Linked DNA regions of Homo sapiens: regions 1, 2, 3 and 5 are each linked to region 4. Evidence: promoter capture Hi-C in 16 types of primary human blood cells and fetal thymus (Javierre and others, 2016). All regions are on one chromosome and are shown on one strand. Each heading gives the region's core, a stretch centred on a gene start or on the middle of the fragment in contact. The rest is flanking DNA. Distances are from core to core; before and after follow the strand shown.

Region 1 (4,903 bases), core at 1,171-3,670, 450 kb after region 4:
ACTCCAACTCTTGCCCCTCCCTCTGGCAAAAATTACACAATTTCTAGAGAAACTCACAATCTCAAAATTGGAAGCTGCTTCACATTTTGAATTCTACCTATTAACTGGTGCATAAACACCCTCTGAAGGAACATTTCCCAAACAGCCATGATAACTAAGAATCATGGGACCCTTGTTAAATGCACATCTCTGGCTCACTGGACCAGAACCTGCAGGGTGGAGTAGAGCTTTATGCTTAATAGGTGACTTGGGTGATTCTCGTCACAGAGACATCTGCACAGCCTGTTTCATGACAGTGGTTTTCAAACTGTGACATGCATGAGATTCCGATTCAGTGTGGGGGTGAGGCCCGAGATGCAACAAGGTCTCAGGGGATGTTGATACTGCTGGGTTCAAGGACCACACTTGGGCATGGGAGCTCTATAGCATCCCAACCAGCGGGTGCTTCAGCAGGCACTTCTAATACGTCTAGAGACCCCAAATTATTGATTATGCCAGTTTTGGAAGAATGAGGGAAAAGGAAAAGAATCCAGGTGCCCTGGCAGATGTGGCCACTCACCAGTGGAATCCAGTTCTTTGGCCTCCACAGTCAGGTTATACCAGGGGTAGACTTCTCTGTCCAGTTCTTTCTCATTGTAAATGTCCCCCTTTTTTGTGACTCGGAAGAACTGGCCCTTGTCACTGGTCCTGCGGATGGAGTATCTGCCCAGGGGAGAGAGTTTCATGGCTTTCCATTGTTCTTTGCTGAGTCTACACTCCTCAGCATGATGGACAAGGCCCTTCTGCATCTGTCCCCTGCATCCCACTCCATGCCCCTCTCTCACTGCTCATTGCACTCTGCCACTCAGACAAGAGTGGACCTACACAGAGGGATTCAGGATAGCAAGATAATGTCTTTGATCTTAGTTACATTGCCATCACTGGACTGGAGGTGGTACCTGAGACCATCAGATGCACTTTCAGAGCTGAACAGGTGACATCACACCATAGCTGGGACTTGTTTTAGTGATTAATGAAAAGATCATTGGGCAAGAGCCAGGAAGGAATACAAAAAGAGCTGGAAGAGATAAGAAGTAATTACAAAGAAATTAACTTTGTGAAATAAAAAACTTAAAAAGTTCTTTCAGAAATCAGGAAAAATCTATGGAAAGATAAATATATATGTTTTGTGTATATAGGAATAATAGTTGCTATTAATGAGGAAAATCCCAGAACAAACAGAACAGAAGAAATAACAAAAAAAAAAAAAAAAAAAAAGAAAAGAAAAGTTTCCTGATCTGAAGAAAGGCTTGAGTCTACACATTATAAGATGTCATTGACATCAGGCATCATTGAAAAAAACCCCAATACTTAGGCAAATCCTGACGACACTTACGAATTTCAAGGCTGTGTGAAGAAACTGAAAAGAGTCCAGACAGAAAGAAATAATTTCCTTATGAGGAAAGAAAAATCAGATTTGCCTCAGATGCCCCCACAAAATTAAATACTAGAATACATTGATAGTATTTTTGAAGGGAAGTGTTTATAATCTGAGGATTATACGAATACATCTAGGTGTTATTAGAAGGCAAGGTTGGGCATGGTGGCTCACATCTGTAATTTGAGTGCTTTGGGAGAGGCTGAAGCTGGAGGTTTGCTTGAGGCCAGGAGTTCAAGACCAGCCCAGCCCAGGTGACAGAGTGAGACCCTGTCTCACCAAAAAAAAAAAAAAAAAAAAAAAAAAAAAAAAAAAAAAAAAAAAAGATTAGCCTGGTGTGGTGGTGTGTGCCTGTAGTCCCAGATACTCAGAGGCTGAGGTGGGAGGGTTGCTTCAGCCTAGATGTTCAAGGCTGTAGTGAGCTATGGTTGTGCCACTGCACTCTAGCCTGGGTGACAGAGGAAGAACCTGTCCCCCCCACCCCCCAAAAAAGGCAAAGAACTAAGATATTTGTGTCCTGAATTTTTTTTTGAAAACTTACTGTATCTAACTAAACATCTCAATATAAAGTAAAAACCTGGCATGGGAAGAATTAAAACAAAACTATTGATTTTTTTTATCATACATAGAAAAGCAATGGGTGTGTGTATGTCTATAATAGTTTTAACTAGAAAATATAGGTCCAAGAAAACATTTTAAATTTTGCAGATAGAAGTAAATCTCACTGGTAGAAATAAAAATGGATGCACCTCATCCAAATATCTAGGAGAAAAAAAAAATAAAGAAACATAGACTGTATAGCAAAGATGAGGAAAAAGAAAAAAGCCATTAAATTTGATAAATGAGAAATGTAAAACAAGATAAAAGAAGGAACATCAAACATATCAATTATGATGAAAAATGTAAATAGGTTAAACACAAAGCATTTCAGTTTAGATTAAAAAGCAAAGCCAAATGCATTCTTGTTTTCAAGAGACAACTTAATGCCAAATGACCTGGAAAAATTAAAAGTAAAGGTTGTAAAATTTGCATTAGGCGTATATGAATAACATGAAAACAGGACTAACAAATGTAACATCAGGAAACAGAATTAAAGGCAAAATATTTAAGCAGAACAAATTGGCTAATTACATTTGGATGAAAGTTACAAACCATAATGAAGGTAAAATAGTTGCAAACCTTTGTTAACTGAATAGAAAAATTTAAATACATAAAGTCAAAACTTAGATATTCTAGGAAGAAGTGGACACAAATACAATTGTATCACATCACAGAACAAGCTAAAGCAAAACAAAAAAAACACCCTATGACTTATAAATGAAAATAAAGAAATCAAGTCAATCTCTTAAATAAACCCTTGGATCAAAGGAGAAACAAAAATTATAATTACAGGCTATTTAGAAAAGAATGGCAATGAAGAGTAGTCCCAAAACTTAGGATATGAGGCCAAAATGGAAGAACATATTTTGTCCTTAATAAGAAGACTTAATACCCTTGAAACATTAGCTATACCAAAATTAATATATAAACACTAGAATTCTAATGTTTAAAAAACCTGGATACAAAATTTTAAATTTCACAAAAGAAAAAATGAGAGTTGACAAAAAATTATATCAAATAAAAAAGCAACATGGGAAGGACTTTTATGTATATCTAAGATCTAGTGTAAAGCTATATGGTTTGGATCTGTGTCCCCACCGAATCTCATGTTGAAATGTAATCCCCAGTGTTGGAGGTGGGCCCTGGTGGGAGGTGGATAGACCATGGGACAGAGTTCTCATGAATGGGTTAGCTCCATCCCCTAGGTTCTGTTCTCAAGCTAGTGAGTTATCATGAGACCAGGTTGTTGAAAAGTGTGTAACAACTCCCTTCCCACTCCTGTTCTGGCCGTGTAAGACGTGCCTGCTTCCCCAGGACTGTAAGTTTTCTGAGGCCTCCCCAGAAGGAGAAGCCACTATACTTCCTGTTAAACCTCTTTTCTTTATAAATTACCCAGTCTTAACTATTTCTTTATAGGAGAATGGACTTATACAAGCTAGTAGAATAAAACAGAATAGCTTTGCTATAGAATGATGGATAGGACAGAGAATTAGAAGTAGATACAGGTATATACAGAAAACTTAGTATATAATGAAGGTGGGAAAACGATGACTTATTATTATAATATTTAGTAAATGGTGCTGGCAAAATCAGCTATGCATCTACAATAAAATAAGATTGAATTGAATTTATACTTACTATTGCATATTATATGGCTCTAAAAAGTATCTGTTGGAACTATATCATTTTTTTCTAAAGATTGTAAAAGAGAAATTTAGTTAAGATAGAAGAGCAAATATCGATGAAACCAGCATGGCATGATCCAAAAAAATTTTAAAACAATCAAACATCAAAAGCAAACAGACAACAACAAACCCACCATAAATGCATCCACATGTTTGTGTGGTCACGAAAAGAAAGGAGCAATAGGACCAGGTTAGGCCACGAACATGAGTTATCTGAGAGTGGGGGTTATCAGTGTTTTCTTGGTAGATCTCTGTGTTGTTTCACTGTATAAAATGAACACTTCTTACTTTTGTGGTTTGGGGAAGATAGATTCAAGAATACAGTTTTAGTGAAGGGGCCTCTGGTGTGTCGTCTGATTGGTTGCTTTCTTGACTGTCAGATCTTACCACATAGGACTGGTGAGAGCTGTGGTGCAGAGAATAAGCCTTCAAGGCCGGACAGAGGACAAGTAGCTCTGGATGCCCAGGACCATGCTAGGTGGGGGAGTCCAGGCAGGTCAAGATGCCAGGCTGCCAAGTGCAAGAGCTTGGGCTTCTGGTCTTGCCTCTGTCACTTTCCCTGTAAGTGCTAGGAGAAGCCAGTTCCCCTCTCTGAGTCCTGGCCTCAGACCAGCAGGCATAGGAACATCCAGGCCGGATTGTCCTTATCATTCTCATCGACACACGCCCCCTTACCCAATGCTATGCCTAGCCGCATCAGGGTCCATGGCCAGCACTGTGCCAATCAGAGGCTTCTTCTGGTTTTCCTTCAGCTGGAAGTGGTAGAAAGGCTGCTGGAAAATGGGGGGCTCGTCCACATCTGTGATGTTGATAATGACCTGGGCTCTGTTTCCCGCGGGAGGGCTCATGTATCGGAGGTCGATGGTGGGGTCTGTGGCCTCGACGATGAAGCTGTATTGCTGGATGTATTCATAATCCAGAGGCTGCGTAAGGAAAAAGGATGGTGAGTGCCTGCTCTGGGCCAAGCATGTGTGTGGCACATGATCTGCACAGCAACTATGCAAGGTAGTACCAGGATGACACCCATTTTATAGATGAGGGGCCCATGGCCTCGACAAGTGATATTTCTGAGGTCATCAAGACAGCGGCTGGGCCTGGTGTCTGTCTTCAGCTGCTCCCCATTTCATCTCAGCAGCCTCATGGCCACACCCACAACCCTGGCTGTGTGCCTGGCCCTATTTCCAGCGTTTGGGACATAGAA
Region 2 (5,277 bases), core at 209-2,708, 390 kb after region 4:
TGGAAGACAGAGGTTGCAATGAGCTGAGATTGTGCCACTGCACTCCAGCCTGGGCAACAGAGCAAGACTCTGTCCCCCTGACCCAAAAAAAAAAAATTAAACTACATGCTTCTAAATAATCTATAGGTCAAAGAAGAAATCACAATAAAAATAAAAATATATTTTAGGCTAGGCACTGTGGCTCATGCCTGTAATCCCAACACTTTGGGAGGTCAAGGTGGGAGGATTGCCTTAGCCCAGGAGTTTGACACCAGCTTGGGCAACATAGTGAGATCCTGTATATACAAAAAAATAATAAAAAGTTAGCCGGGTATGGTGGTGCATGCCTATAGTCCCAGCTACTTGGGAGGCTGAAGTGGGAGGACTGCTTGAGCCCAGGAGTTCAAGGTTACAGTGAGCTATGATTGCACCACTGCACTCCAGCCTTTTGAAGCCTTTGTCTTCAGAAAACAAAACAATGTGTGTGTGTGTGTGTGTGTGTGTGTATAACAGAATGAAAAAAAACACAACATAGTATCAAAATTTATGGAATTCAGCTAAAGCAATGCTTAGTGGGAAATTCATAGCTTTAAATACTTATATTAGAAAAGAAGAAAGGAAAAGAAGAAAGGCCTCGACTTGAAAACCTAAGCTTTCATGTTAAGAAACTAGAAAAAGAGTAAACAAAACCCAAAGCAAGTAGAGGAAGGAAATAATAAAGATGAGAGCAGAAATCAACGAACTAGAAAACAGAAAAGCAACACAGAATATCAATGAAACCAAAAGTTGTTTTTTTGAAAAGATAAAATTTACAAATCTTAGCAGCTTTATGAGGTAGGTGCTAGTAATCTGATTTAATAGATGAGGGTACTGAGGCTCAGGAAGGTGAAGTGACTTGCCCAAGATCGCAAAGACAATTTTTAGTTGGGGGGAGGGAGACAGGATTTGAACCTGGTTCTGACTCCATAGACCAGGGAATAATATGATATCCTCTCTCCATCCTGGGGAGCTGTGTGTCCCTTCGTTACTCTGGGGCCGTACAGTTGGGCATTGGGGTAAGTGAGTCTGCCACGTGAGGTGCCATGAGGATTGGGAAACCCAGCTATGAAGCAAACCATCTCTAAACCCCATCCTCCTTTTCTCTACACTCTGGAATGTCTGTCCTGCAAAAAGCGTCTAGAAATTTCCCCAATAAACACTCACCTGACAACGCACTCAGATTCCTGGTCTCCCCACAGATCCCTTCGCCAAACACCCATGAGGGATTCTGGTGCCACCTGACCTCTGTAAATGTCACACTGGATGGGCATGCTTTTGCCAACTCCTTTAGGCCTTTCTGGTGGGACAGCAATTATGGCTCCTTCACTGTTCACCATGCTGCCCAGGCCCAAAGCCAGAGGCCTACAAAAGGCATGGCCCTGTGGTTTTCGATTCTGGAGCACATTAAAGGTGATAGGATTTTGTCCTCTGATCCTCAGAGATTCCTTCATTTCCCAGAATTTACAAGGGCATTTGGAAAACCAGCATCAGGGTAGCAGTGTATTAAAATTAGTATACTAGGGCTTATTCCAGAAATGCAAGGATGATTTAAGATCAGGAAATCTATTAGCATAGTATGTTACTTCAGTAGGCAGGACGAGAGAAACCAGTAGAATAGGAAAAGACAGTTACCTCTTTGCCATGATAGATCCTGATGATCTCAACTGACTGCCAACATCACACTAAACCATGGAGCTTTGGAGTAGTTTCCCAGCATGAGGTTCATGGCATGTGGATTCCAAAAAACATTATGGGGCATTTGGGGAGAAGTTCTTTATCCCCCACTCCCCATCAGATTGCTTTGCAGGCCTGAGCTATTTTGAGAATCAAACCAGTCCCAGTCCCAGGCCTTGTGTTCACCAACGTTTAGTATCCTGAGAAGGTAAGCAGCTCTAGGGTCTCTGGAAAAGGATCATCCTTCAGCCACCTTCCTTGGGCAGCCAAAGTCCCGAGTTCCTTTGCTGGAGCTGACCTGCTTCTTGGACTAGGACAGAACTCTGGTTAAATAAGACACAGACAATCCTGGGTTCAAGTCCTGGCACTGCCTCTTGCTGGCAGTGCCCACTGAGCAAGTCAGATCTCTAAGCCTCTATTGCCTCATCTGTAAAATGGGAGCAGCAATTTCGGCTATGAGCTAATCAAAGCAAACTGCCTAGCAGGATGCCTGGCTCATAATAGGTGCCCAATACATGACAATCAAATATTCAAAATTTAAAGACATTCCCTAGACTCAGAACTAAATGTGAAAGACAAAAGAGTAAAGCTTGAAGTGGAAAACATCAGAGAACATCTTCATGACCTTGCATTTCTTAAACAGGACACAGAAGATACTAACCATTTAAAAATGGATACATTGGACTATATTAAAATAAAAAAACTTTGGTTGGAGTTTGGGTTGCAAAGTGGTGGAGGGCTGAGGGCCTGCACAGGGACTGAGGCATCCAGGGTCAAGGTCAAGGTCATGGCTGGAACAAGTGAAAGATTTTGAAAGAAGATTCTCTAAATATATTCATCATTTGCAACCTGCCCCAGGACACTGGAGAATGTTTCTCATGGAGGGATCTGTCTGTACTGGTGCCTGGGAGTGGTTAATAGATCCCGAGACAAAAGAGTTCCTTCTTCACGTCTTTATGGAATCATCCATTTTTTCATGATTAGCTTTTCACTCTAATAGGTTTGTTCTTTGCTGGATGCACAAGAGGTAGTTGCACCATCAATTACAGCAGTTCAGTGTCAAACAGTATTAACAGAGTATAATATGTCTGGTGATGATACTGGAAAACTAATTTTGAAACCTAGGCCTTGTGTTCAATGAGGGGGCCTAAAACAGCCTTTCTTCAAATAAGTGATAAGTGAAAAGCCCCCACAGGATTCCTTTTCAGTTCAAAATATGCAAGCCACAGCAGCTGCTGAATGGAAATGTGTGATATTTACCTAGACTGTCTTTTAATGATGACTCATATTATCAGTGCTTTTGATACCTCTGCTCACCTATGCTTCAGTGTAGGTGTCCCTTGAATACTTCTCATCCTGCAAAGATTTTTTCTTTTTCTTTTCTTTCTTTCTTTCTTTTTTGATTTTTGAGACAGGGTCTTCTTGCTCTGTCACCCAGGCTGGAGCCTGGAGTACAGTGGCACAATCATAGCTCACTGCCGCCTTGAACTCCTATGCTCAAGCGATCCTCCTGCCTTTGCCTTCCAAGTAGCTGGGACTATAGGTGTGTACCACCACACCTGGCTAATCTTAAAATTTTGTTTGTATACACAGGGTCTTGCTATGTTGCCCAAGCTGGTCTCAAACTCCTGGCCTCAAGCGATCCTCCCGTTTCGGCCTCCCAAAGTGCTGGGATTACAGGTATGAGCCACCCCATCCAGACCCATCCTGCAAAGATTTTTGCAGTAGTAGAAGTATAGGTCTTGGTTATTGCAGTACACTTAGAAACAGACCCTCATTCAGCCTTTGTATGTTTTTTTCAGTCTGTTCTAAATCAAAGCCAATCAAAGCCAATGTCAGACAAAGGGAAAGTGCTGTGAGCACCTATGTTCTCCTGCATGTGTTTCATCAGCTTGCCATCCCCACGGCTCTCGTAATAAGACAATCGTGTAGAGCTGGGGCTTTCATTCTTGCACAGTGAAAAATAAGCCCCACTGCAGGAGAAACCCTGGATGTGCTAAGATTGAGCTAAAATTGATATTGAAATGATATGTAAACATTTGTTAAGTCAGATACTGAACTTCAGCCACTCTTGTGGTTACACTATTTAGTTCAGTGTTTTTATTTAATGCTTAGGATAATTTCTAGTTTGAAGGAATTTAAAGAGCACTTCCCAGGTTTCTGAATATACAAATTCAGTAATAAATTACATAATGTCTGGGAATTTGATCATCATATTATTTTAGATAATTGGATCTTACACTTGGTAGACACGCCAGCACACTAGTATTGCAGGTGTAATTGATCATCCTACTCCCTCACAAGAATAATATGGGAGCAATGCCACAGTGCTCTATTCTCACTGTTTAGAGTGTGTTGGTGACATATTGCGTGTGTATAATAGCCACACATACTCATAATAGTCCTTGAACTATTGGGATCACTGCTGATATTTTAAAGCATTGGAGGTACCTTTTATCTTGAAAAAATATAATCTTTTTGAAAAACTTTAAATTGTTTCATTAGTGATTTTTTTTTTTTTTTTTTTTTGAGATGGAGTCTCACTCTGCCACCCAGACTGGAGTGCAGTGGTGCGATACCGGCTCACTGCAACATCTGCCTCCTGGGTTCAAGAGATTCTCCTGCCTCAGCCTCCTGAGTAGCTGGGATTACAGGCATGCACCACCATGCCCACCTAATTTTGTATATTTAGTAGAGACGGGGTTTCTCCATGTTAGCCAGGCTGATCTCGAACTCCCGATCTCAGGTGATCTGCCCGCATTGGTCTCCCAAAGTGCTGGGATTACAGGTGTGAGCCACTGCACCCGGCCCATGAATGATCTTTTAAATTTTAGTTAACTTAAAATCTGAATTGTTTTTTTGAGACAAGGTCTTGCTCTGTTGCCCAGGCTGGAGCGCAGTGGTGCACTCACATGGGTGAATCTCACAACATAATACTGAGCAAAAGTAGCCAGACCTGAAAGAAAACATACAACTCCATATATATAAAATTCAAAAATAAGCAAAACTAATTTACGGTGACAAAAGTCAAGTTAATGTTTACCCTTGACATGGGATAGTGACTGGGAGGACACATCAGGGGAGTTCTAAGATGCAAGTAAGGATGTGTTTATCTTCTTCTTTTTTGAGACAGGGTCTCACTCTGTTACCCAGGCTGGAGTACAGTGGCAAGATTGTAGCTCACTGAAGCCTTGAACTCCTGGACACTAGCAATCCTCCTGCCTTAGCCTCCCAAAGTGTTGGGATTACAGGCAGTGAGCCACTGTGCCTGGCCAAGGATGTGTTTCTTTTCTTTCTTTCTTTTTCTTTTCTTTTTTTTGAGACAGAGTCTCGTTCTGTTGCCCGAGTGCAGTGGCACGATCTCGGCTCACCGCAACCTCTGCCTCCTGGGTTCAAGAGATTCTCCTGCCTCTGCCTCCCAAGTAGCTGGGACTACAGGCATCCGCCACCACACCCAGCTACTTTTTGTATTTTTTAGTAGAGACGAGGTTTTGCCATGTTGGCCAGGCTGGTCTTGAACTCCTGACCTCAGATGATCTGCCTGCCTCAGCCTCCCAAAGTGCTGGGATTACAGGTGTGAGCCAC
Region 3 (4,871 bases), core at 1,333-3,832, 290 kb before region 4:
AAGGATTTATGTTAAGAGGTACTTCTTGGCCGGGTGTGGTGGCTCTTGCCTATGATCCCAGCACTTTGGGAGGCCAAGCGGGGTGAACTGCTTGAGCTCAGGCGTTCAAGACCAGCCTGGGCAACATGGTGAAACCCTGGCTCTACAAAATATAATATAAAAATTAGCCAGGCGTGGTGGCACACTCCTGCAGTCCTAGCTACTTGGGAGGCTAAGGTGGGAGGATCACTTGAGCCCAGGAGGCAGAGACTGCAGTGAGCTAAGATCACACCACTGCATTCCAGCCTGGGTGACAGAGTGAGACACTGTCTTAAAAAAAAACTACAAAAGTACTCTCAATGGTAACCCCTAACCAGAGACACTGAACCTGTAAAACTGCTCTATCAACAAGTAGAGTGAAGCATGCATTACTTGTCTCCCTAATTCTACACAAACACCTGACAGAGCCCTCCAACCCAGACAAGAGCCATTATCACTCAAAAGGGACAAACCAGCTAAGTGGAGGAATAAAAGACCTTCTGATTTGCCAAAAGTTTATTCTTTGGGAAGAATCTTTAAGCTCTGACTTTTTCTAATAAAACATTTCAGAAATGATTACAGTTAATGACACACACACAAACACACAAATGTAGAAGTGGTTGTGGCACAGTAATAGATACACCAACAGTAAAAATTTCCCCATTTTGTGGAGGGGGAGACAAGGTTTTTGCTCCCACCACCCAGCAAAAAAAAAAAGGAAGCCAAGAATCTGAGAAGGATTGTAATTCTTGGTGCCATGATAATCACTGACACCATCTTACTCAGCACAAGGCTTTACAGTTGTCAAAGTTCTCTCATGTGTAACAATCCATTTTTTATATGCAGAAGCTTCAGAGAACCCAAATCTGAAATAACTAAATACTGAGTTCAACTAACCCAAGAATCTCTATTCTCAGCAAGTATACACTGAGGGGGAAATAAAGGCTTAGGCAAGCCTTGGGTGACCTATAGAACCCACCAAAAGTCCTGTCAAGCTGGACTCTGGGCCCAAAGTATCCAGTGGCCTAACACATTTCTTCAGGCACCAGATACGTGTGGATGTCAGATGGGGGCTGTAAGGAAGGCACCCTTCAAAGGTAAGTCTTCTGTCTCCCTCTGCTTGAAGTATATCCAGGTATAATTACTAAGAGTTTCAGCTACTTTTTAGATTGTGATTCCCCAAAGTGTATCTTTCTACAAATTATTGTGGAGACCAGATGGCTGAACTGACTCCCTGCATTAAAAGCATCACTGCAGCCATATTCCATAAGGAAGGATATGAGAAATGAGTGGGTTGAGAAACTTGTGCTTGCCACAGGAAACTCTCAGTGAAGACGATAACCCTTTGAGGCCCTGACTTAACAAATCATTTGCCCTGCTGACAGTGTAAGCAGTGAGCAGTGTGACTGCTGGGAATGTGCTGTACAAGGTGGCAGACATAATTGGCTGAGAGCCCACCCTCGACAGGCTCCTCCTGCTGTCTCCTGGGATGATTAATGACCCTGATCCTTGACCACCCTGCTGTTTCAAGCAGTGATCCTCTTGGGAAAAAACCACACTAAATCACTTGACTTTGCTGCCACATCTCAATTCTCTCAAAAACTATAGCTCAGGCTGGGTGCGGTGGCTCACACCTGTAATCCCAGCACTTTGGGAGGTTGAGGCGGGCGGATCACTTGATGTCAGGAGTTTGAGACCAGCCTGGTCAATATGGTGAAACCCCATCTCTACTAAAAATACAGAAATTAGCCTGGCGTGGTGGCACACGTCTGTAATCCCAGATACTTGGGAGGCTGAGGCATGAGAATCGCTTTAACCCAGGAGGCAGAGGTTGCAGTGAGCTGAGATCACACCACTGCACTCTAGCCTGGACAACACAGCAAGACTCTGTCAAAAAACAACAACAACAAAAAACCCCAAAACCATAGCTTAAGCATGACACTCCTTTAAGTGGTTGTTCTGTCTTGGCTAGAAAATCACATTTTAAGAAATTCGTAACGTGAAGGTTGTGAACTGTCTAACTGTTCACAGAAGTGGGCTCAGAGTTCATATACCAGATTCTTTTTTTTTTTTTTTGAGAAGGAGTCTTGCTCTGTCGCTCAGGCTGGAGCGCGGTGGCGCTATCTCGGCTCACTGCAAGCTCCACCTCCTGGGTTCACGCCATTCTCCTGCCTCAGCCTCCCGAGTAGCTGGAACTACAGGCGCCTGCCACCATGCCTGGCTAATTTTTTCTATTTTTTAGTAGAGATGGGGTTTCACCGTTAGTCAGGATGGTCTCAATCTCCTGACCTCGTGATCCGCCCACCTCGGCCTCCCAAAGTGCTGGGATTATAGGCGTGAGCCACTGTGTCCAGCCTATATACCAGATTCTTAATAATTAAGAACCATTTGGGAGGCTGAGGTGGGACGACCGCTTAAGGCTAGGAGTTTGAGACCAGCCTGGGCAACATAGGGAGACCACGTGTCTACAAAAAAATAGAATTAGCTGGGTGTGGTGGTGTGCACCTGTAGTCCCAGTTTCTTCGGAGGCTGAGGCAGAAGGATTCCTTGTGCCCAGGAGTTCAAGGCTGCACTTAGCTATGATGATGCCACTGCATTCCAGCCTGGGTGACAGAGGGAGACCATGTCTCAAAGAAAGAAAAAAGAAGCAAAAAAAAAAAAAAAAAAAAAAAAAAAGGAATCAATGCCTCAGAGACTGATGCAGGAACCCAATTTACGAATAAATGCTGGTTAGGCAATGAGCTCCACGAAGGTTCTCAGCTCTCTTTATGGGAACAAACTCCACGCTGAAGCTCCCAGTCCCGTTAAGCACGATCCACAACCCAAAGCAGCTGAAGTTGGCCAGGCATGGGAATGTCACAAAATGAGGCATGGATCCTGGAGGGACCAGCTACTGAAGGTGGCACTCTTTTTTTTTTTTTTCTGTGAGAAGGAGTTTCGCTCTTGTTGCCCAGGCTCCAGTGCAATGGCGCTATCTCAGCTCACTGCAACCTCCGCCTCCTGAGTTCAAGCGATTCTCCTGTCTCAGCCTCCTGAGTAGCTGGGAGTACAGGCGTGCTTTACCACGCCCAGCTAATTTTTGTATTTTTAGCAGAGATGGGGTTTCATCATATTGGTCAGGCTGGTCTTGAACTCCTGACCTCAGGTAATCCACCCGCTTTGGCCTCCCAAAGTGCTGGGATTACAGGCATGAGCCACTGCACCCGGCCAACTATTTCTTTTTGTTGTTGTTGTTCATGGTTGGCAAAACTCTGGCCAAGGTGTGGCCAAACCACAATTCAACAAGTCCCGTCTGCTTGCCTACGTTGAGAACTTGGCATAAAGGGTAGAAAAAGGAGAGCCAGGCATGGTGGTGCGTGCCTGTAGCCTAGTCAGGAGGTTAAGGCAGGATTGCTTGAGCCCAGGAGTTCAAGGCCACAGTATTCCAATGCACACCGGCCTGGATAATATAGGGAGAAAAGCTGGGTGTAGCGGCTTGCACCTGTAATACCAGCACTTTGGAAAGCCAAGGAGGGAGGATCGATTGAGCCCAGGAGTTCAAGATCATTCTGGGTAACACAGCAAGACCCATCTCCACATAGACAAAAATTAACTGGGCATGGTAGCACATGCCTGTGGTCCTAGCTACTTGGGAGGCTTAGGTGAGATCACTTGAGCCCAGGAGTTTTGAGGCTGCAGTGAGCTATGATTGCACCACTGCACTACAGCCTGGATGACAGAATGAGGCCATCTCTTACAAAACAAAACAAAACAAAACAAAAAAAGGTAGAAAAAAGGGGAGAGCTGGCCAGGTGCGGTGGCTCACGCCTGTAATCCCAGCACTTTGGGAGGCCGAGGTGGGCGGATCATGAGGTCAGGAGTTCCAGACCAGCCTGAACAACATGGTGAAACCCTGTCTCTACTAAAAATACAAAAATTAGCCGGGTGTGCTAATGCGTGCCTGTAATCCCAGCTACTTGGGAGGCTGAGGCAGGAGAATCACTTGAACCTGGGAGGCAGAGGGTGCAGTAAGCTGAGATCGTGCCACTGCACTCCAGCCTCAGCAACAGAGTAAGACTCTGTCTCAAAAAAAAGAAAAAGAAAAAAACAAAAAAGGGGAGAGCAGTAGCACTGCAACCCACAGGATGCATCTCCAGGAAACACTTGGGAACTGTCACAAAGCTATATAAGCACACAGCAGGCCTATGTGCATGCTGAGAGAAGCAGTGCTGTTGCTTATTAAGATTTGCTAATTATAAGACTATGTCCAGTCCCTTGACAAAACTAAACAAAAGCTTTAACCATAAACATCTGCATCATTTGTCTTCTACCAACTATGTGGCAATGGACTGAATGCTTTTGTTCCCCTAAAATTCATATGTTGAAATCCTAACCACCAAGGTGATGGTATTAGAAGGTCAGGGCTTTGGGAGGTGATTACATTATGGAAGCAGAGACCTCAGGATTGAGATCAGTGCCGTTAAAAAACAGACTCCAGGGAGTTAACTAGCCCCTTGCACCATATGAGGATACGGGGAGAAGTTTCTTCTATGAACTAGACTGCAGGCGCATCCAGATACTGAATCTGCCAGTGCCTTGATCTTGGACTTCCCAGCCTCCAGAACTGCAAGAAATAAATTTTTGTTGTTTAGCAGCCACTCAGTTTATGGTATTTTATTATAGCAGCCTGAATGGACTGAGACACACCCTAAGCACGTGGGATTTTAGACTGTCTCAACATGGGTATAATGCGGAATGTACCAACCTCAAAGCCAGTCACTGACCTGCAGCAAGTAGGCGAAGTCGTAAACCTGCAGGTCCAGTTCCATCTCGAAGAACATCTACACTCTCAGCATAGACATTGCCCAGGAAAC
Region 4 (5,175 bases), core at 808-3,307:
TAAATACAGCATGTGCATGCACTGCCCCCAGCTGCCCTCCCAATGTGTGTGCCTGCAAGTCCATAGAGATCTTCCTATGAACACATTAATCTTTCTATGATCTTCCATTGTGCACACAGAGCAGCCAGGCCCAGAACATTCATGTGTACAAACACACACACAGCCCTGCAGACTACATCTGACACACGCATATGCTCTCTCACACACAAACCCCTCTGTTGGAGACCCAAGTTTGCATAAAGGACCACAGCAAAACACATGCCCATGCACACACACACACACACACACACACACACCTGCATACACACCCACAGGCGCCCACCACCTGCCTCCCAGAGGATCCATCTGCAGCCGAGAGGCTCAGCATCTCCCTGGGGAACATCCTGAGATGCAGCCTATTTTTAGAGCTACTGCCGGCTGGTGCTTCTCCCCCTTTTTGGCTTCTTAAGTTTTCCTGAGAAAACAGCAGCAGGTGCCGACAGAGCCGTGTCCCCAATGGATGACTCAGAATCGTGGCCCGGCCCCTCTGGGTTATTTTTGAAGCCCTGTGAACACTGCTGCATGCCGGCACCTCTGTCCTCTGTCCTTCCCTTCCTCGACTGGACAATCCAGCTCTGCCTGGGTGATGGGGTGGCTGCTTTGGGGGAGCAGGCCCATGGAGCAGGCTACACAGGACACTGGGTGCTCAGAGCTGGTGGGCATGACTAGCAAGAAGAGCTGGAGGCAGGGGACTCTGGCTCTGGGGGAAGCACCCAAAAGGTGGCTCAGAGCAGGTGCTGGGAGAAGATGATCCCTATGGGTCCTGTCCATCTGCCCCATGTCTGCCTGTCTCTCCCTCTCTGCTTGTCTATATCATCTTTTTCTGAATGTCTCTTTCCAGCTCTTGCATACCCAGATCTGGGGGTTCTCTTCCAAAATATGCTCCTTTGTTCTTGGGGCCCCAGAGGGAGCCAAAGACTCCACAGCACCCTCCCTCTGGTCTACTGCAACTTTCTGGCTTCCCAGACTGTGGTCCCCCACCCAACCTCACAAAGTGACTGCCTCTCCGCAGAGGAGTGGGGCTGGGGGATGTTCCTCCCATCATTACTTTTTCTTCTCCGCACCCCACCTGTCTTGCACTGGCTCCCCAGGGAAATAGGGAACCCCTTACCCCACACCCCCACCCCTGCTTGGTAAGAAATGGCCCCAAAGGGAATTGACTGCCCCAGACCCACACTCCAGCCGTCTGGCTCTCACCTTCTGCCTCTTCTCCCTTTCTCTGAGTCCTAAGGAAACTGAGGCAGGATGAAGGAGCTCTCTTCCGCGTCAGCCCAGGAGGCTGGTGTGGGCCACGGGCTCCCACGACTCACACCCGGACGTGCGCAAACACCCTGCTCGGTGTAGACACCCAGACACATGCTTGCGCCCCCAAGTGCCCCCTTCCCTCACGTACCGGCCGAGAAGGCAGCTCGGCCACTTCTGCGGGGAAATTCTCTCCGGGGGACACTGCGCCCTTGCCACGCGGAGCCCCGCTCCCCCGAGGTCCCCGCTCACTTGCCGTGCGCGCTCCCCGCAGACACCCGCGCACAGCGCTCCGCGGCGCCCGCCCCCCGCTGCCCTGGGCCACCCCCACGCGCTGCGCACGCCCGGGGCGAGTGAGTGAGAGTCTGGGCCTGGGTCTGAGCGGGCTGGGCAATCAGGGGCTTCGCGGAGGAGGCGGCAGGACACAGCCGCCAGGTCGCTTGCTGGCGGCGGGGCCACCCGGGGCGCAGCGCGGACTTTGCGTCTGGCGCGGGGGACCAAGGCTTGGGCCAAGTTCGGGGGCCGGGATGGGAAGAGGGGTCCCGCCCAGCCTGGAGTGTGGGAGCTTTCCGGTCTGGGAAACCAGCTGGGCAAGAGGGTTGGGGCGAGTGCAGTTGGGTCGGGGGTCCGAGCCAGAGGCGGTGGGGGAGGTCTGTGCCTACCGTCGTCCTGGCCGTAGCCCCAGCCGTGGTGGCCGGTCATGCCGCTGCCGTCCCCGCAGCCGTGCACCTGCCCGGTCGGCTCGGTCCGCTCGTTCGGGCTGCGGCTCCGGCCCCGCTCGCTACCGCGGAGCAGCCTCTTAAAGCAGCGGCTGGCGGGAGGAGCAGTTCCCGGGGGACCCGCCCCCCACCCCCCAGCAGGGCCAGAGAGGCCGGCCTGCCCCGCCCTCGCCCGCCGGCGAGCCAGTTGAACCCCGAGCGGAGATTCAGGGCAGGAGGAAGTAACCCTCTCCCCCCAACTCCCACCCCTGCCCTGGCTGGGCGACTATCCCTCTTTTTCCCCCAGCAACCCGTGCGGACTCTGGGACACTAGATGCCCGTGCCGCACATGGCGTCCCTTCCCTAGGCTTGCCCCAGACCTGCAAATGCCACCACCAGAGACCTGAGCTCTGGGTCCTGAATCTTTTGGGGTTGGAAAGTCCCCTTTAAACTGCAAACTACACTGACCATCAAGTGTCCAAAACTGGAGCTTCCACTGTTTGCCAGAGGCTGTTGCAGGCGCTGGACCAAGCTTTGGGTCCTTCCTATGGTATAACCCTCTCTGTTACCCTACAAGGTTGGGTGCTTCCATCAGCCCTATCTGACAGAGGAGGGGAGTGAGGCCCAGAGAAGTGAAGTGACTTGCCCAAGGTCATCTAGCCAGGGGGTAAAGGGTTCATTAGCTGGGGTTCTTACTCCAGACACTGGGGGTTTTGTGGGATTTGTTTGTTTGTTTGTTTGTTTGCTTGTTTGTTTTTAGACAGAGTCTTGCTCTGTCACCCAGGCTGGTGCTATATCAGCTCACTGCAACCTCCACCTCCTTGATTCAAGTGATTCTTCTGCTTCAGCCTTCCAAGTAGCTGGGATTACAGGTGTGTGCCACCACATCCAGCTAATTTTTGTGTTTTTTGTAGAGATGGGGGTTTCACCATGTTGCCTGGGCTGGTCTTGAACTTCTGGCCTCAAGTAATCCACCCGCCTTGGCCTCCCAAAGTGTTGGGATTAGAGGAGTGAGCCACCACTCCTGGCCTGACACTGGGGTCTTTACCATTTCTCCTTGGTGCTGGGTACAAGGGTGTGCTGTGAGTGTGGGGGTCCGGGAACCCTGGGGTAGATGCAGGGACAGGAATGGCAATGTGAACCCTTGGCCCAGGTGGAACCAGATCCCCCAAGGGGGAGTGAGAAGGAGTGGCATCAACCAATGGGCCTGAAGACAGGCAGACACCAGGTGGCTTCCCCATGGAGCTAAGTCTGAGGCTCTGACTTCCACCCTCCCTGTTATTTTGTCTACTGCTTCCTCCTTTCTTCAGGGACTCTGCTTTGTCCCTCCATAGCCTGCTGTTTGTCCCTCCTCTCCTGACCTCCCCATAACCTTCAGTACACCCCCTGGGAGCTCAGACCCTCCACCCTGCACTCAACCCCAGTGCCTGCCTTGGCCCAGTATTTTCCCACCCACGAGCCCTGGTCGTTGTTGTGCCCTCCACCTGGTGCGTCCTCTGTCTTCCACCCACTGGCTCCAGCCGGCCCAATCTGATTCATCTTAGCACGTGGCCTTGTGCCAGGGAGAGGGCTTGTCTCTGGCTAGTCCTCAGCAGGCAGTTTTGGAAAGACAAACAGAGGGGTGGATGGAAGGACAGATAAATGATCCCACCCGGGGTCCTGTACTCAGCAGGAGTCGAACAGCCACTAGTACAATGTCTGCTGTCCAGATCTTGAATAGAGACACTCTTTCAGGCCCTGCTCTTGGCTGACCTTGTACAGGAATCTGCCATCTTGTCTGCCTGGCTCCCCTTCATCTCTGTGTCTGTCTCAGTTTCCCTCTCCCAGGCCCTGAACCCCAGATCCTCAGATAGAGCTATGGAGATTAATTGATAACTGGTTGGGTGGGCCAATGTCAGTGACTGCCCAGGCCTGCGAAGATGGCCCTCTCTGATCCAGGAGCAGGAAGGGATCCTTAATATAAATATGACCCTAGGGTGGGGCAGGGGACTTATGACAGAGATAAGTAGCCCCCAAGACCAGATGTGACAGAGAATCCAACACTGTCAAGGCCCCAGGTCTCCAAGCTGGAAATGGCATCTACAGATCAAGAAGACAAAGGCATGCTTCTGGGTGAGGCCTGGACCTTCTGTCTCCCAGAGAAGCCAGCCACCCTTTACCTGGGAGAGCTGCCAACATCCTTTACCTGGGAGAGAGCTCTGGGGATAGCCCAAACTCCATTGACCCATTTCCTCTTCAGAGGGACTCAGGTCTTTTTCATATTTATTTGTAGTTCTTAAAAGATACAACTGGGCCTGGCACAGTAGCTCATGCCTGTAATCCCAGCACTTTGGGAGGCTGAGGCGGGCGGATTACCTGAGCTCAGAAGTTGAAGACCATCCTGGGCAACATGGTGACATCCCGTCTCCACTAAAATACAAAAAATTAGCCAGGCATGGTGGCAGGTGCCTGTAGTCCCAGCTACTCGGGAGGCTGAGGCATGAGAATTGCTTGAGTCCAGGAGGCGGAGGTTGCAGCGAGCCAAGATTGCACCACTGCACTCCAGCTTGGGCTACAGAGTGAGATTCTGTGTCAAAAAAAAAAAAGATACAATTGGAATTCTTCATATAGTTTTGCATCCAACTTCATCTACATAGTAACCCTGGGGGGATTTTTACCCCATTTTACAGATGAGAAAAGCAAAGCTCAAGAGAGGATGAGTGATGGGCTCGAAGATGCACAGTGAGTGACTGAACAAAGATGAAAACCCAGGGCTGCTGGGTCCCTCGTTCAATATTGTCCAAAATCACTGGAAAGGGAGGAAGCGGATTTTAAATTTGACTCTCATTTGTGTGTGTATGCAAGTCCTCTCTAAAAGGACTTAGGAGAAGCTAGGGAGAGTGTTTACCTACAGGGAGGAGACTGGACACCGGAAGGTTGTGGAAGGTTGTGGAAGGGTGTGGTATGGCGTGGGAAGGACACTCTTTACTGGTACTCCTTTGTATCTCTTGAATGAATTAAGGCATGTATTACCTCTTTAACAACCAAATAAAAGTTGATCCAGTTCTTTCCTTCCTGCAGCCTGTCTTCAGCATTTTCTCTGGGTACTGGGAACTCAGGAAAGTGAGAGGAGACAATGGAGACTGCCCTTCTAAGGTGAAGCGCCAGCTGCCCCAGCAACCCACTCAGGTCAACTTGGGGGAGCCTGTGCCTCCAT
Region 5 (5,475 bases), core at 1,877-4,376, 270 kb after region 4:
AGGAAGTGGTAGCTGCATGCTGGGCACTCTCAGCTGTGGGCAAGCCTCTGAAGCTGTGCAGAGCCCGACTCAAACAGTTCTAGTATGAAATTGACCGTGTGTTCTGTGGCTTCCTGCACTGACCTTATCATAAGGTCCCAAGTGACTCCTGAAGCTTGATTCTAAGCCTGCCTACCTTCTGAAGTGCCAAGTCATCACCTCCTAGCACCAATACCCTCACAAAACTAGCACATTCCCTACTGTGCCAAGGCCTCCCAGTGTAGCTACTTGCCCCTCTGAAAAATTGTGTAGGTACACATCCTTCATCTCACAGAATCTGAAAGAGCACATTTGAAAGGAAGGGACTGGATAGGAGAAGAGAACACAATTTGGGTCCTGTTTTGATGAGTCTTTTTCAAAAACTTCCAAGTTAATTAAATCACTTACCATCTGACCAACTGTGTGGTTGCTCAGTATGTGTCCTGCTAGTGTGAACTGAACATCAGAATAACTGGGCAACCATCTTGGTAACAGAGAGTTTCCCCACCATGAAGCTCCTGGGAGCTCACAAGGCATATCCTGTGCTGTGCTAGGTCTGGCCCATGCTCTCGAGGACAGTAGCAGGAAAGGACAGGGGCTCCGAATCACCTCTGGGCTCCCAGTCATCCCCAAAAAAGAGGATACTGTCACTTAAGACAGACACAGCAAGGGGGCCTGGCTTTATTGGAGTTGACCAAAGGCCTGTAACCCTGCAAGAGCTGGGCTGAACTTCCTGTGACCACTGTGAGAACAGGTTCTCTCATAGGACACTCACGGTTCATGCTCAGGAGATCCTAGTTCTTACCTTTGTCTGGGATACTTCTTGGGCATTACCACTGAACCCTACAGCAAAGTATGATGTCTCCTGGCCCTCTCCAGCTTTATGTGTGGACCCAGCCTGCATGAGTCCATTTCTCAGAGGGCTCTGATCCTCCTGACCACAGCTGATGGTGCTGTGGAGCCATCAGTCACCCACCCCCAAGGGCCTGTGTACACCCACCAGGATAACCAATTCACCTTTGGTGCTGTATTTTAAGAAAAGCATGAGGAAACAAGATACAGAGATAAAATTTAGAGAAGCTGAGGAGGACATAAAGACATAGTTTCACTGAGTTTCTTACCTTAATGGAGAATGGAGATAGAAAACCATCACAAGATAATAGGTTGTAAAGTCTGCAAAGAGTCTGGGCTTTAGAGTCAGATAGACCTGGGTGCATATCTGAGTTTCTGGCACCTACATATGGCTACTGAATTGAATTCAATTGGCAACTGAATGTCTTTAATCCAATTTTCTCATCTGTTAAATGAGGGGTGAGGGGTGACCATAACCTCACTGGGTTGTTGTGAGGATTAAATAAGGTGACATGAAAAAGTATCTGGCACATGGTATATGCTCAAAAATGGTTACTTTACCTTCCCTTCTTGAAAATTTCCACGGACAGAGATTTGAGTTTCCCCTGAGAAACCTCTCCATAACTAAAAGGGTCTTCCACATGTTCAATTAAAGTTGCTCATATTTGCTTTGTCTGCTTCCTGTACTCGGCATTCTGTGGGACAGAGAGAGCTCAGCAGCCTTTGAGAAAATCTCTCACAGATTTGAAGACAATGTTTGAGTTTTAGCTCAAAAGGAACATTCTGACTTTAAGGTTAGAAAAATGTTCTATAAGGAAGTGGGATGTGGAAGAGGCCTAAGCTCTGAATTAGGATTGTTCACAGCGCAAGACAGAATGGCAAACGCCACCCAGCTATCTGATGGGTCTGATGGGTGGCTGTTCTTTTTGGACATTAGAATATTTAATTTGTGTCACATACTATGTTATTGGCTTTGCACACATTTAAATGTTTCAGGAACCCTATGAGGTAGTTATTATCATACTTTTCCTTCTCTGTATTTCTTAAATGGGGAAACTGAGGCTAAAGGTTACATAGCTAGTAAGGTGGCAGGACCAGAATCTGGGCCTATGGCTGCCTCTGGACAAAACCGTACTGCCTCTCTAGTCTGAGACCTGAGGGGTTAGCTTTAGCAATTGTTCAGTTGGCAAAGAATGTGAAAGTCTGGGAAAAGCTATTAAAGAAGGCTCTGTAATGTCTTTTTCTGGATAGTCCGGCACCTCTTTGTGATATGGACCCTAACACACACACACAGGTTGACTACAATCTTTAAGTGTATGCACGGCAATTTTCTACAATGCCATCATATCAACTTTTGCTTTTGGGGAGAATGTTTATAATCAGAGTGCTCTCTGCAAAGTAGAAGCATGCACTGTTGTACAAGCAATGGCTGAGAAATGTGCTTACCTACTTTATATACTAAGTATATATATTTTTTTAGGACAAGCTGAAAAGTACCATGTGTCTAGTGCCATAATGAGGGGTTTTACACTCAGGGCTGGAGCAGCGGTGTGTTGGCTGTCCTGCAGGCACAAGGGTTCAAGGAATCCTTCTGGACCAGGGCAACACCCTAACTGTCACAGCTCAGCTATGTCCTTGTCTAGAGAGATAGCTCCGTTGTTTTCACTTAAGGAGAGCCCTTACTCTGGGGCTGAGGGCAAAGCTTGGATTTGAAGAATTGTAAAAATGAACACTTACAAGTAAGGGCCAATGTAAATAGGTCAGCAAGTGGTGAAGGGTTAGCACATATATTAGAATAAAAAAAACGACAATGCAGATTTCCAGACTTGTGATTGTTATAAATGACTCATTGGCTTGGGTGATGATGAAACAAGCTAATGCTCCTAAGATAAGACTCTGCAATAAAAGAAACAGGATTTGTTTTAATGCATGATTTAAAAAAATCTACATTGTCAGAATGTAAATCTGATTATATCACAGTACAGTGGCCTGTATTGTTTTGCACATACATTTTTAACATTTCTTACATTTTGAAGAAATGAAATACATGAAAATAATAAAAAAAGCACACAGTATAGAAGGATAAAATAATACCAATTTCTTTCTCTTCCCCCAACCCAACCTTAGTCTCTCTCCTTAAAAGTAACCACTATTAACAGTTTATATTTCATACTAGAAAGAAGTCTGTATATATACTGGTAAAGTACATATACATTGATTTTGGTAGAAACAGTGAGGAAGAGCCTCAGTTTTCTTTCTTTCCAAACAGCTGCTGATTATCTCAACATCATTTATTGGGAAATGCCAGTATTATCCCTATTGATCTGAAATCCAACCTTTATTGTATACTAAATTCTCAGATGTAGTTCGGTCTCTTGAGACTGTTCTCTTCCATTGAATTGGTGCTTCCTTCTCTAGTACTCTAAGTTATAGACAATTCACTCTATACTGAGTTATTGTTTCACCTAGTCTTCCTCTTCTTACTCATTCTCAGACTGTTTATGTCTCCCATGTTTGTGTTGGTCAAGTTCCCCAGACTAAGCCTGTTGGCATTTTAGTTGGGATTTCTAAATGAAATACTTACTTATAATTTGGAAAAATTACAGAATTTAGTTTTTCTCAAGAACAAAATATATCTTTCCAGTTATTTTAGTGGTTTTTAAAAAATATCTCTCAGGAGAGTTTTAAAGTTTTCTTCCCATATGTGTATCACATTTCACTTATTTTTAGATATTTGATCATTTTTGATGACTGTTGTAAACAGAAATATTTTCTTATATTTTAAGTGGTTATTTGTCTAGGAAAGCTTTTATTTATTAACACAATAACGAGTCACCTGACTAAATCATCTTGCTCTAAATTGTTTCCAGTTGATTTGTTTTTTTCTAGATATGCAATTACATTAGCTGAAAGAAAGCATATATTTTACCTCCTTTTTTTTTTTTTTTGAGACAGTCTTGCTCTGTCGCTCAGGCTGGAGTGCAGTGGTGTGATCTCAGCTCACTGCAACCTCTGCTTCCTGGGTTCGAACAATTCTCCTGCCGCAGCCTCCCGAGTAGCTGGGACTACAGGCGCGTGTCACTAAGACTGGCTAATTTTTGAATTTTTAGTAGAGACGGGGTTTCACCATATTGGCCAGGCTGGTCTTGAACTCCTGACTGAGGTTATCTGCCTACCTTGGCCTCCCAAAGTGCTGGGATTACAGATGTGAGTCACTGCGCCTGGCCACCTCTTTTCAAATATTATTTCCCATTCCTAATTATGATGACTAGTGGTTTCAGAAAAAATTGACTCATGGTGTAGGCATCATTTTTCCCCTCATTTAATAAATAATACTTCTGATATTTAATTAAATATGCTGACTCTTAGTTTGAAATGTTTATTTTTACAATGTCAATGGAATATTTATATACTCCTATCTTACTGGTCTCCCTTCTTGGCAATCAGGGACAAATGTTGAATTTTGTCACATGTTCTGTGACATAATCTCCTAATTTTTTATAATGTGATAGATATAATCTCATTTTCACTTTTACTTCTAATACAGTGAATTATTTTAATAGAATCTTAATATTGAATCATCCTGTTTCTTTCTTGTGGTATTGTATTTTCAAAAAATACTGATGAATATTATCTGCTAATAGATTGACATTTTGTTCTGATGCAAGTGAGATCTCTACTTCGTTTTCTTTTTCTGAACTCAGTCAAGTTTTCCTATCAGTATTATACTGATTGTGTAAAGATAGTTCAGAAGTTATTTCTTCTTTCTCTATTCTTTGACAAAGTTAGAGTAGTGTCAGAATTATATCCCATGAAGGCTTGAAAGAGTTAACTTGTAAAAAGGTCTGGGCCTGATACATTTTTGAAAGATACTCATTTGCTAAAATTCTCATTTTCTTCTATGTTTATATTGCCCTGTTTAGATTTTTCCCTATTCTGGGATCAGTTTTGGTGATTTACATTATTCTGGAAAATCAACCATTTCATCCAATTATTCACATCTATTTTGCAAGGTACTCCTGTAGATCCTTTCAGTTTTGCTGATGTTTGTGATTATTTTCCCCTTCTGGTTTCTAATTTTAAATATATGTCTTTTCTTCCCCCTTTTTTTCTTGGTTGGCCAATGGCTTATCAATTTAATAGGACTTTCAAACGACAGCTCTTGTATTGACTGATTCTATTATTTTTGTTTCCTAACTTATAAATTCCTATTATCTTCATTGCTTCCCTAATTTCCTTTGTGAGAGGAAACTGAACCAACCCAAATGTCCATCAATGATAGACTGGATAAAGAAAATGTGGCACATATACACCATGGAATACTATGCAGCCATAAAAAAGGATGAGTTCATGTCCTTTGCGGGGACATGGATGAAGCTGGAAACCATTATTCTCAGCAAACTAACGCAAGAACAGAAAACCAAACACTGCATGTTCTCACTCATAAGTGAGAGTTGAACAACGAGAACACATGGACACAGGGAGGGGAACATCACACACTGGGGCCTGTAGGGAGTGGGGGACTAGGGGAGGGATAGCATTAGGAGAAATACCTAATGTAGGTGACGAGTTGATGGGTGCAGCAAACCACCATGGCGCGTATAT

Evidence for each region. The method cuts DNA at HindIII sites, captures the fragments that hold promoters and counts their contacts. A CHiCAGO score of 5 or more calls a contact.
Region 1: a contact is called between a fragment that was not itself captured here and the fragment with the promoter of CA7 in region 4, in 5 of 17 cell types (M0 macrophages, total B cells, neutrophils and 2 more). The highest score is 7.5, in M0 macrophages.
Region 2: a contact is called between a fragment that was not itself captured here and the fragment with the promoter of CA7 in region 4, in 7 of 17 cell types (M0 macrophages, fetal thymus, total B cells and 4 more). The highest score is 8.2, in M0 macrophages.
Region 3: a contact is called between a fragment that was not itself captured here and the fragment with the promoter of CA7 in region 4, in 1 of 17 cell types (erythroblasts). The highest score is 5.8, in erythroblasts.
Region 5: a contact is called between a fragment that was not itself captured here and the fragment with the promoter of CA7 in region 4, in 1 of 17 cell types (endothelial precursors). The highest score is 5.7, in endothelial precursors.

What each region holds. Positions count from the first base shown.
Region 1 is chr16:66,391,858-66,396,760 of GRCh38, reverse strand. CDH5 (cadherin 5) reads right to left here. Exons shown (of 12, transcript NM_001795.5): 7 at 4,378-4,625; 8 at 560-702. Among named protein-coding and RNA genes, the nearest start is that of LINC00920, 14 kb to the left of the region's middle. The HindIII fragment of the contact is 9,921 bases long and covers 1-4,903 here.
Region 2 is chr16:66,448,551-66,453,827 of GRCh38, reverse strand. The region is part of intron 2 of BEAN1 (brain expressed associated with NEDD4 1); the gene reads right to left. It also overlaps the pseudogene LOC107984807. Among named protein-coding and RNA genes, the nearest start is that of BEAN1, 24 kb to the right of the region's middle. The HindIII fragment of the contact is 1,650 bases long and covers 634-2,283 here.
Region 3 is chr16:67,134,378-67,139,248 of GRCh38, reverse strand. PHAF1 (phagophore assembly factor 1) reads right to left here. Exons shown (of 16, transcript NM_025187.5): 8 at 4,782-4,871. Among named protein-coding and RNA genes, the nearest start is that of B3GNT9, 14 kb to the left of the region's middle. The HindIII fragment of the contact is 3,425 bases long and covers 870-4,294 here.
Region 4 is chr16:66,841,296-66,846,470 of GRCh38, reverse strand. CA7 (carbonic anhydrase 7) reads right to left here and starts at 2,057. Exons shown (of 7, transcript NM_005182.3): 1 at 1,944-2,057. The coding sequence starts at 1,983. It overlaps LOC124903699 (a long non-coding RNA gene), which reads left to right. Exons shown (of 4, transcript XR_007065088.1): 4 at 4,649-5,038. RefSeq lists an enhancer at 1,628-2,129. The HindIII fragment of the contact is 7,096 bases long and covers 1-2,513 here.
Region 5 is chr16:66,567,227-66,572,701 of GRCh38, reverse strand. The region is part of intron 2 of CKLF-CMTM1 (CKLF-CMTM1 readthrough); the gene reads right to left. CMTM1 (CKLF like MARVEL transmembrane domain containing 1) reads right to left here. Exons shown (of 4, transcript NM_052999.4): 2 at 2,608-2,766. Among named protein-coding and RNA genes, the nearest start is that of CMTM1, 3.5 kb to the right of the region's middle. The HindIII fragment of the contact is 1,104 bases long and covers 2,575-3,678 here.